Linked DNA regions of Homo sapiens: regions 2 and 3 are each linked to region 1. Evidence: promoter capture Hi-C in 16 types of primary human blood cells and fetal thymus (Javierre and others, 2016). All regions are on one chromosome and are shown on one strand. The core of a region is centred on a gene start or on the middle of the fragment in contact, and the rest is flanking DNA. Distances in the headings are between cores, read along the strand shown.

Region 1 (3,427 bases), core at 680-3,179:
GGAGGCAGAGGTTGCAGTGAGCCGAGATTGTGCCCTTGCACTCCAGCCTGGGTGACAGAGTGAGACTCCATCTCAAAAATAAAAAATAAAAATAAAACAAAAGAAAGTTATTTTTACCCAACATCCACATTAACCAAATACCCATTTCTTTATTGATCTTTGTAAAAAAAAGCTCTTGGAAAAATTGTCTATATTCACTATGACTTATCTCCTCCAAATCACTTAAACACATACCAATCAGGTTTTTGTTTTCATCATTCCAAAGTAACTTTTACAGCCAAGGACAGTAGCGAACTTTACATCGCATATGCATTGTGAAGTTCTTGATCCTCATCTTACTTAACCTGTCAGCAGTATCTGACACAGGTGTCACTGGCTCCTCCCTGAGATGCTCTCTTTATTTGGCTTTTGGGACACCATATTCTCCCCATTCCTACTTTCCTCAATGGCCCTCCTCAGTCTCCTTTGGAAAGAGGAAAAAGAAACTTCATTATCTCCTGGATGTAGTACAAACAACTCAAGCTCAACATGTGCATACTGAACTCCATTTCCTTTTCCCAAACTTCGACATTTACAGCCATCCCCTTTCAGCTGATAGCAAGTTTATCCTTCCAGCTACTCAAACCAGAATCTTTAGAGCCATCCTTGACCCTTTTCCTCCTCTCACACTCAACATCTATCCATCAGAAAATTTTGTTGGTTCTACTTTCAAAATGCATACAGAGTCAGAGCATGTCTCATTACCTCCAATAGCTACCATACTAGTCTGAACAAACATCATTTCTCACCTGGGTTATTGAACAAACATCATTTCTCACCTGGGTTATTGATAGCATCCTAACGGGTCTTCCTGTTTCTTGGTTCCCCTATATTAGCAACACAGCAGTCAGAGGAGTCCTTTTAGAACTCAATCAGATCATGTCACGTCACTCCTCTACTTAAAATCCTTCAATGGGTCCCATTACACAAAGAGTACAAACCAGAGCCCTTACACTGGTCTACAAGTTCCAACATTTGACTCCTGTTATCTCTCTGACATCATATTCTAATATTACTGCTGTTGTCCTTTTGCTCCAGTCACACTGTTTGATTAGTAAATATTTATTAAACAAAGCAATCCTAGTCTCCAAAGAGATCATAGTTTATTGGAGGAAACAAGAGCCTATAAATGGTTACACACAGAAGGTAGTGATTATGGTTCTCCCTCACCTCCCATCCTAAACTTTGACAGGTGAAACTCCCCTGGATGTTGAAGGTTGAGGAATTTGCCAGGGTTCAGGGTGGTGTTGGAGGAGGCAGGGAGGAAGCAAGGACATTTCAGGCAGGAAGAACATTACATGCAAAGATCTAAAGATATGAATCAGCAACATATTTATGGAATTACAAGTAAAGTAGAAAGTTCTTGCTAAAACATCAAAAAATAAAGATTTGTGATTAGGGGGCCAGAATGTGGGAGGGAAAGAGAGATACAGTTCACACTTTAGACAGGAGCCAGATCATGAAATGTTTTCTCTTTGTTTGTTTCTTCCTTCACAGCTTTTGATATGCTCTTGGAGCAATTTATTAACCATATTTTTTAATGCATCTCCTGAACAGAGTCAAAGCAATACTTGGAAAGGACTCTGAATTTCCTGATTTAAAGATACAAAAGAAAAATCTGGAGTCACAATTAATTTGAGAAGGTAAAGGAGTGGGTGTGCTACTGTATCAAATTTAATTTGTACAAAATCATCATCTCTAGTAACATTATTTTTTCTAATCTACTGCGTTTAGACTACTTTAGTAAAGCTTGATCTCCCTGTCTATCTAAACACTGATTCACTTACAGCAAGCTTCAGGCTAGCATTGGTCATATTAATACCCAACAAATCCACAAGGTGTTAGTTGCACATGATTTTGTATAAAAGGTGAACTGAGATTTCATTCAGTCTACAGCTCTTGCCAGGCAAGGCAGCCGACCACAGGTGAGTCTTGGCATCTACCGTTTTCAAGTGGTGACAGCTACTTTTGAAATTACAGATTTGTCAGGACATGGAGGACAAAACTAGAGCTTCTCACTACTGTTGTGTAGGAAATTTATGCTTGTCAACCTGGCTTGTAAAATATGGTTAATATAACGTAATCACTGTTAGCAAGTAACTGACTTTATAGACCAATATGCCTCTCTTCTGAAATGGTCTTATTTTAAACAAATGTGAGCAAAAGAAAATATTTATGAGATTCTAAAAATGAAGACATAATTTTGTAGTATAGAATTTTCTTGGCCAGGAATGGTGGCTCATGCTTGTAATCCCAGCACTTTGGGAGGCCAAGGTCAGAGGATTGCTTGAGCCTGGAAGGTTGAAGATGCAGTGATTCATGATTATACCACTGCACTCCAGCCTGGGCAACAGAGCAAGACCCTGTCTCAAGAAAAGAAAAGAATTTTATTTTTCTTTTCAGACAAAAATAGACTTTAAAATAATAATGGAAGAACAAATATGATGATCACAATTATCAGAGTAATTACTTTATGACAGTCAGCAATAAGATTCTAATCTTTAAATATTCCTCTGCTTAAATCATTATATTGGAGTTTTGATCTATAATATATTCCCACCCTGACCCAAAAATTGAAGAAGGACAAGGAAAAATGTTGTTCCAAGAAACAAAGATGTAAGTAAAAAGGCATAAGGAAGGAAAAAAAACTTTTGAAGCAAAATGTGATTGAGGAGGATGAGCAGACCAATTATTTTTGGTTTGGTCAGCTTACATAATGATTATCGTTCTTTGGTTTCTCAGTTTCTAGTGGGCTTCATTGTTTGCTTCCCAGACCAGGATGAAGACACTCCAGTTTTTCTTCCTTTTCTGTTGCTGGAAAGCAATCTGCTGCAATAGCTGTGAGCTGACCAACATCACCATTGCAATAGAGAAAGAAGAATGTCGTTTCTGCATAAGCATCAACACCACTTGGTGTGCTGGCTACTGCTACACCAGGGTAGGTACCATGTTTTGCTGGAAGCAAGGGTGTTGAAGGTCTGTATTAGGCCGGTTTCATTAGTTTCTACTTTATCAATATTTTATGTATTCTAAGTAACAGCCATGAGTCCTTTAGCCAAGACTGTCTGTGTTGTGATTGGGGTTAATGACCACGATATCACTTAGATGTTTGGGCTTGGATTTGATTTGGGTAAATTTAGGAAAGCCTCAGATTTAATCTGATCAATTTGGTACTAGTCCAACTTTGCATCTACAGGGAAAAAGTATTTCTATGTTACGTTTTTACACATAGAGAGATAAACATGGAAACATACATATATTTAATCATAAAGGACCTATAATATTCTCATAAAGGCAATTTCTTTAACTGACACTACATCTTTGACACAAAATCACACCAAAATATGTCTCCAAGTCACATAAAAACATAGACAGCCACTTAAAAAAA
Region 2 (3,427 bases), core at 453-2,952, 810 kb before region 1:
CTGGGACTGCAAACTAGTTCAACCATTGTGGAAGTCAGTGTGGCGATTCCTCAGGGATCTAGAACTAGAAATACCATTTGACCCAGCCATCCCATTACTGGGTATATACCCAAAGGACTATAAATCATGCTGCTATAAAGATACATGCACACGTATGTTTATTGCGGCATTATTCACAATAGCAAAGACTTGGAACCAACCCGAATGTCCAACAATGATAGACTGGATTAAGAAAATGTGGCACATATACACCATGGAGTACTATGCAGCCATAAAAAATGATGAGTTCACGTCCTTTGTAGGCACGTGGATGAAATTGGAAATCATCATTCTCAGTAAACTATCGCAAGAACAAAAAACCAAACACCGCATATTCTCACTCATAGGTGGGAATTGAACAATGAGAACACATGGACACAGGAAGGGGAATATCACACTCTGGGGACTGTTGTGGGGTGGGGGGAGCGGGGAGGAATAGCATTGGGAGATATACCTAATGCTAGATGACGAGTTAGTGGGTGCAGCGCAGCAGCATGGCACATGTATACGTATGTAACTAACCTGCACATTGTGCACATGTACCCTAAAACTTGAAGTATAATAATAATAATTTAAAAAAAAAGTGTAGGGATTGAGTAGTGGAAAAAAAAACAAAAAAAATTATCAAGCAGGTGTCTTTGCTATAGGTATTTTCAGAAACTTGAGTTTTCTAATGTAATTTCCTTACAAATATCAAAGGGTACAAAAATAGCAGAAGCCATTTTAAACTATAAGCACTTCATCTGCCTTGTGGATTAACCAATATGCTTAATTCCTTCTGGAAAACATTACGAACAATGCCCTCAGTTTGCTGTAAAAATGTGATGAATGACTTCTTTTAAGCTACTTGCTTCAACTACCTCCAGCTGTGTATTTAAAAAATTCACATTTTTTATCTGTTTAGGTCAATAGTAAGTGCTCTAATTATGTAATTAAATTAATTAAATAGTACTTTTTAAACACCATGAAATAAATGTGCAAATTTTTAAGGGATATTATTTTACACTAATTAAGTAGGACATCTTGATAAAAGTTATTGGCAAAAAATAAGTTGATACTGATTTAGTCTTAAGGAAGAAATCTAAAATGCAGAGTAAAGATAATAGTAAAAATTTAGACTTCTTCAGAGATTTTTTCACAATTAAAAAACATTCTCACATCCTTCACAAAAAATTGAAACTAGAAAAAATGATTGACACTGCAATCAGTGGACTCATACTCAAATAAAAGACTTTAGCTTTACAGCAAAAGACTGGCAAATAAATGCATATTTGTATGCTTTATATTTAAGTAAAATTCTAAAGATACATATACATTGTTTTAAATTTTTTTTTGCCTTAAGCACATTTTTACTTACAAAGCTAAACACAAGTCCTAATAAGATTGGTTTTTAAAGCTTCTATTCTATTCGAGTAGTTTGTTCTCTACTCTAGTAATTTTCTTATTCTATTTAATTATGTATTTTTTTAGATTATTGTTTCTCATTGCTAACCAGCTTTGGCTGAAAAATGTTCCAAAATACTTGCTTTTGTGGCTTTTCTTCATTTCCATTAGTAATAGAGTTAGATTGACAGTTCAAAGCAACTTAAAATTATTTTAAGCCACTTTTGTCTGAGAATTCCCATGTAAAGCAGGATAAATACCATATATAATGAATTAAACAGGTAGGTGGAAAAGTTGGTTTCTGATGAACCAACACAACCCCCAGAAGATGGGCATTAAAAATGTTCTTCAAATGTCTTTCGACAATAGGGCAGAGAAAGAATGAAGATAATTTTCAAAGTCACACAAAGGACATTTTGTTTCCAAAGATCACTTTAGAAACAAGAAATCAGGATTGAGTCTTGCCATATTCCCTCTGTCTACACCATTTTAGTATTCAGATTAGAGAATGTCTAGAACTTACTGGAACCTAAATGACACCAGTCTTTTAAGCTTTAGTTTTACAATACAGAGATAAGACATTGGGAAAATAAAATAGGATTACAGAGACCAGTACTCTGAATAGCTAAACATGACATAAAATGTTATTATATTTACTTACTTTTTGTCTTGTTTTCATTTTGTCTGACTATATAAACAATAAAACTCTCTTAGTTTCTAATAGATTAAAAATATCTTTAATGTTGAGATACTGTGTCAATTTAGAGCTCTTAAATCAGACCCTCCTATTAATTTAAAGTTCCCTTGTTTTCAGTTAAATCAAGGGAGGCAAAATATTCACAAAGCCTCCTTTGTAAGTTCCATTGATGCTCCCATCTTTTTCTCACTCTCCTAGTGTCTTCATTTTATCTTTACCACAGATTGAATTTCATAGTCAGCCAATTGAAACACTGCTTTGCATTTGTTTCAACCTCCTTGATTCTATCTCTAGGTTCATTCTATTCTGTTGTTAAAATCACAGTCCTGGGTAAATGCAATTCCTTACCTACTCAGAACTGCATCAGTATAGCTAGATGTGGCTGGATAAATGTGTATGACCACTCAGGTTAAAATCATTACCACAAATTTCAAGCCCAACCTTTATTGCTTGACAGTAAAACTACATTTCTTCAGTCCACTCATTTACTTACTTGTAAGAAGATTATTTTATGCATTCCTTTTTCTCTTCAAACCCCATTCTCATTTGAGTTTCTACTTCATTAAGGAAATTGAAGTACTTGAGAAGAATTTCTACAAACTTCCACTACTGAAACTACTGACATACTAGCATTTGTGTTTATACACTTGCCCTTTTTTCCTATGTATACACATAGATTATGCATGCTCCTATTTAAAGCCAATTCTCCAAATTTCCACCATATAACACCCTTTCATCTATTTAAGTACATTCATGTACTGCATAACGACATTTTGTTCAATGACAGGCCATATACACCAGTGGTCTCATAAGACCATACTACCTAATGTTTACTGTACTTTTTCCATATTTTAGATTTGTTTAGATGCCCAAATACTTACCATTGTGTTGCAATTGCCTACAACATTCAGTACAGTAACCTGCTGTACAGGTTTGTAGCCCAGGAGCAATAGGCTATATTATATAGCCTAGGTGTGTAGTAGCCTATGCCATCTAGATTTGTATAAGTACACTCTGAGGTTTGTACAATGATGAAAACACCTAATAATGCATCTCTTAGAATACATGTCCATCCGTAAGTGATGCATAACTGTAATTCATTAAAAAAAAGTTCCCCTCTCTCCAAATGGATGGAACTAGAGGCTCTTATTCTAAATGAAATTACTCATATACAGAAAGTCAAAACTTGCATGTTCTCACTTATAAAAAGCAGCTAAATAATGGGTACACATGGACATACAGACAGGAGGGAGTGAGGTCTGAAATACTCCCTATCAGGTACAATGCACACTATTTGGGTGATAGGAA
Region 3 (3,427 bases), core at 651-3,150, 610 kb after region 1:
CAAAAGAAAATGTCATAATTAATTAGATGACAGCCTGGGAGAAAATATTTGCAAAAAGATACATCTGATAAAGAACTGTTATCCAAAAAATCTACAAAGAACCCATAAAATCAAAAGATAATGAACGACTTGATGTTATAAATGGGCAAAATACATGAACAGATATCTCACCAAAGAAGATACACAGGTAACCAAGAAGCATATGAAAAGATGTTCAATATCATATGGCATTAGGGAATTGAGAATGAAAACAACAATGCAATTCCACTACACACCTATTAGAATGGCCAAAATCTAGAGTATTGACAACACCAAATGCTGGCAAGAATGTGAAGCAACAGGAACCCTCATTTATTGCTGGTGGGAATACAAAATGATACAGGCATATGGAAGATGATTTTGCAGTTTCTTACAAAACTAAGATATTCTTATCATCTGATCCAATAGTCATGCTGTTTGGTATTTACCCAAATGAGTTGAAAACTTATGTTCATAGAAAAACCAGCACTAGGATGTTTATAGTGGCTTTATTCACAATTGCCAAAACTTGAAAGCAACCAAGATGTCCTTCAGTAGGTGAATGGATAAGTAAACTGTGGCACATCCGGACAATGAATATTATTCAGCACTGAAAAGGAATGAGCCATCAAGCCATGAAAAGACATAGAAGAAGCTCATATGCATATGTAAGTGAAAGACGCCATCTGGAAAGGCTACATATGGTATGATTTTAACTATATGTAATTCTGGAAAAGGCAAAACTATGAAGACAGTAAAGAGATCAGTGGCTGATGTGTGTTTGAGGGGAGGATGGATCAATAGGGAGAGCACAGAGGATTTTTCAGGCAGTGAAGCTACTCTATATGATATTAAAATGGTGGATACATACCATTACAGATTTCTCAAAATGCAGAGAATGTACAACATCAAGAGTGAACCCTAATGTAAACCATGGACTTTGGGTGACAATGATGTGTCAATGTAGGTTTATTGATGATAACAAATGTTCCCCTGGGGTGCAGGACATTAACAGTGGAAAAGCTGTGCCTGTGTGGGATCAGGGAGTATATGAAAACTCCATACCTTCTGCTCAGTTTTGCTCTCAACATAAAACTGCTCTAAAAATAAAGTATATTTACGAAAATGTTGCATGGACATTCTTGTACACAGCTACTGGTGCATATGTGCATCAGTTAATTTAGGGAATGCCTAGAAAATGAATTGATTGGTTGTATGGCATATGCATATCCAAATGTACTGGGTTATTCACAAAAATTGTTTCAATTTACATTCCCAACAACAGTGCATAAATCCTCTTTACTGCACCTCCTCACCAATGTTTGGGATTGTCATGTGTGAAAATTTGTCATTCTTGTGGTTGTCAACAACAAAAAAACATGTTTGGGATTTAGTCTATTATTAATAAAGTAGAGCATCTTCTCATGTTTATGCCAGTGCAAGTTTCTTCCTCTGTAAAGTACTTATTTATTTATTTTGTCATTTTTGGTAGGGTTGTTTGTTTTATTGATGGGTAGGAATTATTTATGTTCTGAATATTGTTCCTTTGTTGCTAATATATGTTATAAATGCTATTTCCAGTATATGTCCTTTTTTCATTCTATTATGCTTTTTAGTGAACAAAATTTCTTAATTTTAATGCAGCTGAATTTACCCTTTTTTTATTTTTTATTAATATCTGCTTCTGTTTTTGACATTTTCTGTCCTCTACTTTTGTTGGGTTTAGACTGTTGTTCCTATTTAAAATTCTTTTTTTTTTTTTTTTTTGAGACAGAGTCTCGCTCTATCGCCCACCCTGGAGTGCAGTGGCGGGATCTCAGCTCACTGCAAGCTCCGCCTCCTGGGTTCACTCCATTCTCCTGCCTCAGCCTCCCGAGGAGCTGGGATTACAGACACCCACCACCACGCCCGGCTTTTTTTTTTGTATTTTTAGCAGAGGCGGGATTTCACCATGTTGGCCAGGATGGTCCAACATTCTTAATTTTAATCCTTCCTTTTTTTATATAGAAATTTATAAGGCATTAAATTTTCCTAAAATACTACTTTATTTTTTCTATTATTTTTCAGATACAAGTATTTTAAAATTTCTATTGGATTTCCTCTTTACTCAGGAGGTTTTTTTTTCTCCCAAATGTATGAGATTATTTTAAATGCCTCTTTGTTATTGATTTCTAACATATTGTGTTATTGTTAGGAATGTGGGCTGTATGATACCCTTTGAAATTTAGTAAGCCCTCTTTTATTGCGTAAAATGTGATCTGGGATCCATGTGTGCTTGAACAAAATATGTATTCTCTTGTTATTGGTGTGATGGCCTTTGTATGTCTACTACATAAAGTTTCTTAATTGTATTTTAGAAATCTATATTCTTATTCCTGGAGAGCATGAGCTATCACTTACTGAGAGAAATGTGCTAAATATATCCCATTTTAATAGTGATTTGTCTGTTTTCTTTGCAGTTTTATTAGTATTTGCTGCATATAACTTGGTAGATTATTAGGTACATACTATTTAGAATTTTGTTATATTTTCTTATATTGCATGATTGTATTATGTTATATGTTTATCTCATGCATGTTTTTTGTCTGAAAGTCCGTGCTGTCTAATGTTAACATAATTATACCATCTTTCTTTTTGCCAATATTTGTCTAGAGCATCAGTAGGGGTCGAATTAGAAAAACAGAAACCTCCTTAAATATCTAAACATAGAGAATTTAATTCAGGAAATGGGATACACAAATGATAGGCATTCAGAGAAACTCAACGGGGATGGTGAAGCAATGTAAAGATGAGCAACAGCAAGAAGTTGCTACCATGAAGCGGGTGGGGAAACAAAGGTGAGAGAAAGTGATAGTAGAGCCCAGGAGTCATGGTCACCCACATTACCTAGAACCACAGAGAAGCTGTAACAATGCAGGAAAGACCTCTGGAGCTGGAGACTCCCTGAAAGAGAGGAAACCCCTGGGCACGGTCTTCCACTGATAGTCCAAACTCAGCCTCCCATTGACGGAACTTAGACGGAAACCAGTTGACCTGGGGAAAGCAGCTATTGGGCATCAGCATCACTGAGATTTGCTCAGTAGGAGCCCCTTCACACTGGCTTCTATGTCCTTTTGACATGTCCCTAGTATTCTTTGAGCACTTTCTTACTTAATGGCACAAAAAAGATGTTTCAGGCTCATCTTGTTCTTTCCTTGCGGCCCTGCAGGAGACCCTCTCATCCAGCTCAGCTGGTCTTATGCAGGGCCGCCATCCTGAGCAGAGACTCCTCCATCACTTGGACTCTGGGACCTCTTGCTCCTCCAAAGTCTAAGGGGGAAACGGGGTCCAGGACCTTTTTTTTTTTTTTTTTTTTTTTGAGACAGAGTCTCGCTCTGTCACCCAGGCTGGAGTGCAGTGGTGCAATCTT

Evidence for each region. The method cuts DNA at HindIII sites, captures the fragments that hold promoters and counts their contacts. A CHiCAGO score of 5 or more calls a contact.
Region 2: a fragment that was not itself captured here is called in contact with the fragment with the promoter of FSHB in region 1 in 1 of 17 cell types (endothelial precursors); the score reaches 7.9 in endothelial precursors.
Region 3: a fragment that was not itself captured here is called in contact with the fragment with the promoter of FSHB in region 1 in 1 of 17 cell types (M0 macrophages); the score reaches 5.3 in M0 macrophages.

The regions. Positions count from the first base shown.
Region 1 is chr11:30,229,085-30,232,511 of GRCh38, forward strand. FSHB (follicle stimulating hormone subunit beta) reads left to right here and starts at 1,930. Exons shown (of 3, transcript NM_001382289.1): 1 at 1,930-1,964; 2 at 2,782-2,977. The coding sequence starts at 2,819. The region is part of intron 1 of ARL14EP-DT (ARL14EP divergent transcript); the gene reads right to left. The HindIII fragment of the contact is 8,364 bases long and covers 1,831-3,427 here.
Region 2 is chr11:29,421,019-29,424,445 of GRCh38, forward strand. All of the region lies in intron 2 of LINC02755 (long intergenic non-protein coding RNA 2755), which reads right to left. Among named protein-coding and RNA genes, the nearest start is that of LINC02755, 170 kb to the right of the region's middle. The HindIII fragment of the contact is 539 bases long and covers 1,434-1,972 here.
Region 3 is chr11:30,836,252-30,839,678 of GRCh38, forward strand. The region is part of intron 3 of LOC107984419 (a long non-coding RNA gene); the gene reads right to left. Among named protein-coding and RNA genes, the nearest start is that of LINC02859, 100 kb to the left of the region's middle. The HindIII fragment of the contact is 3,827 bases long and covers 1-3,427 here.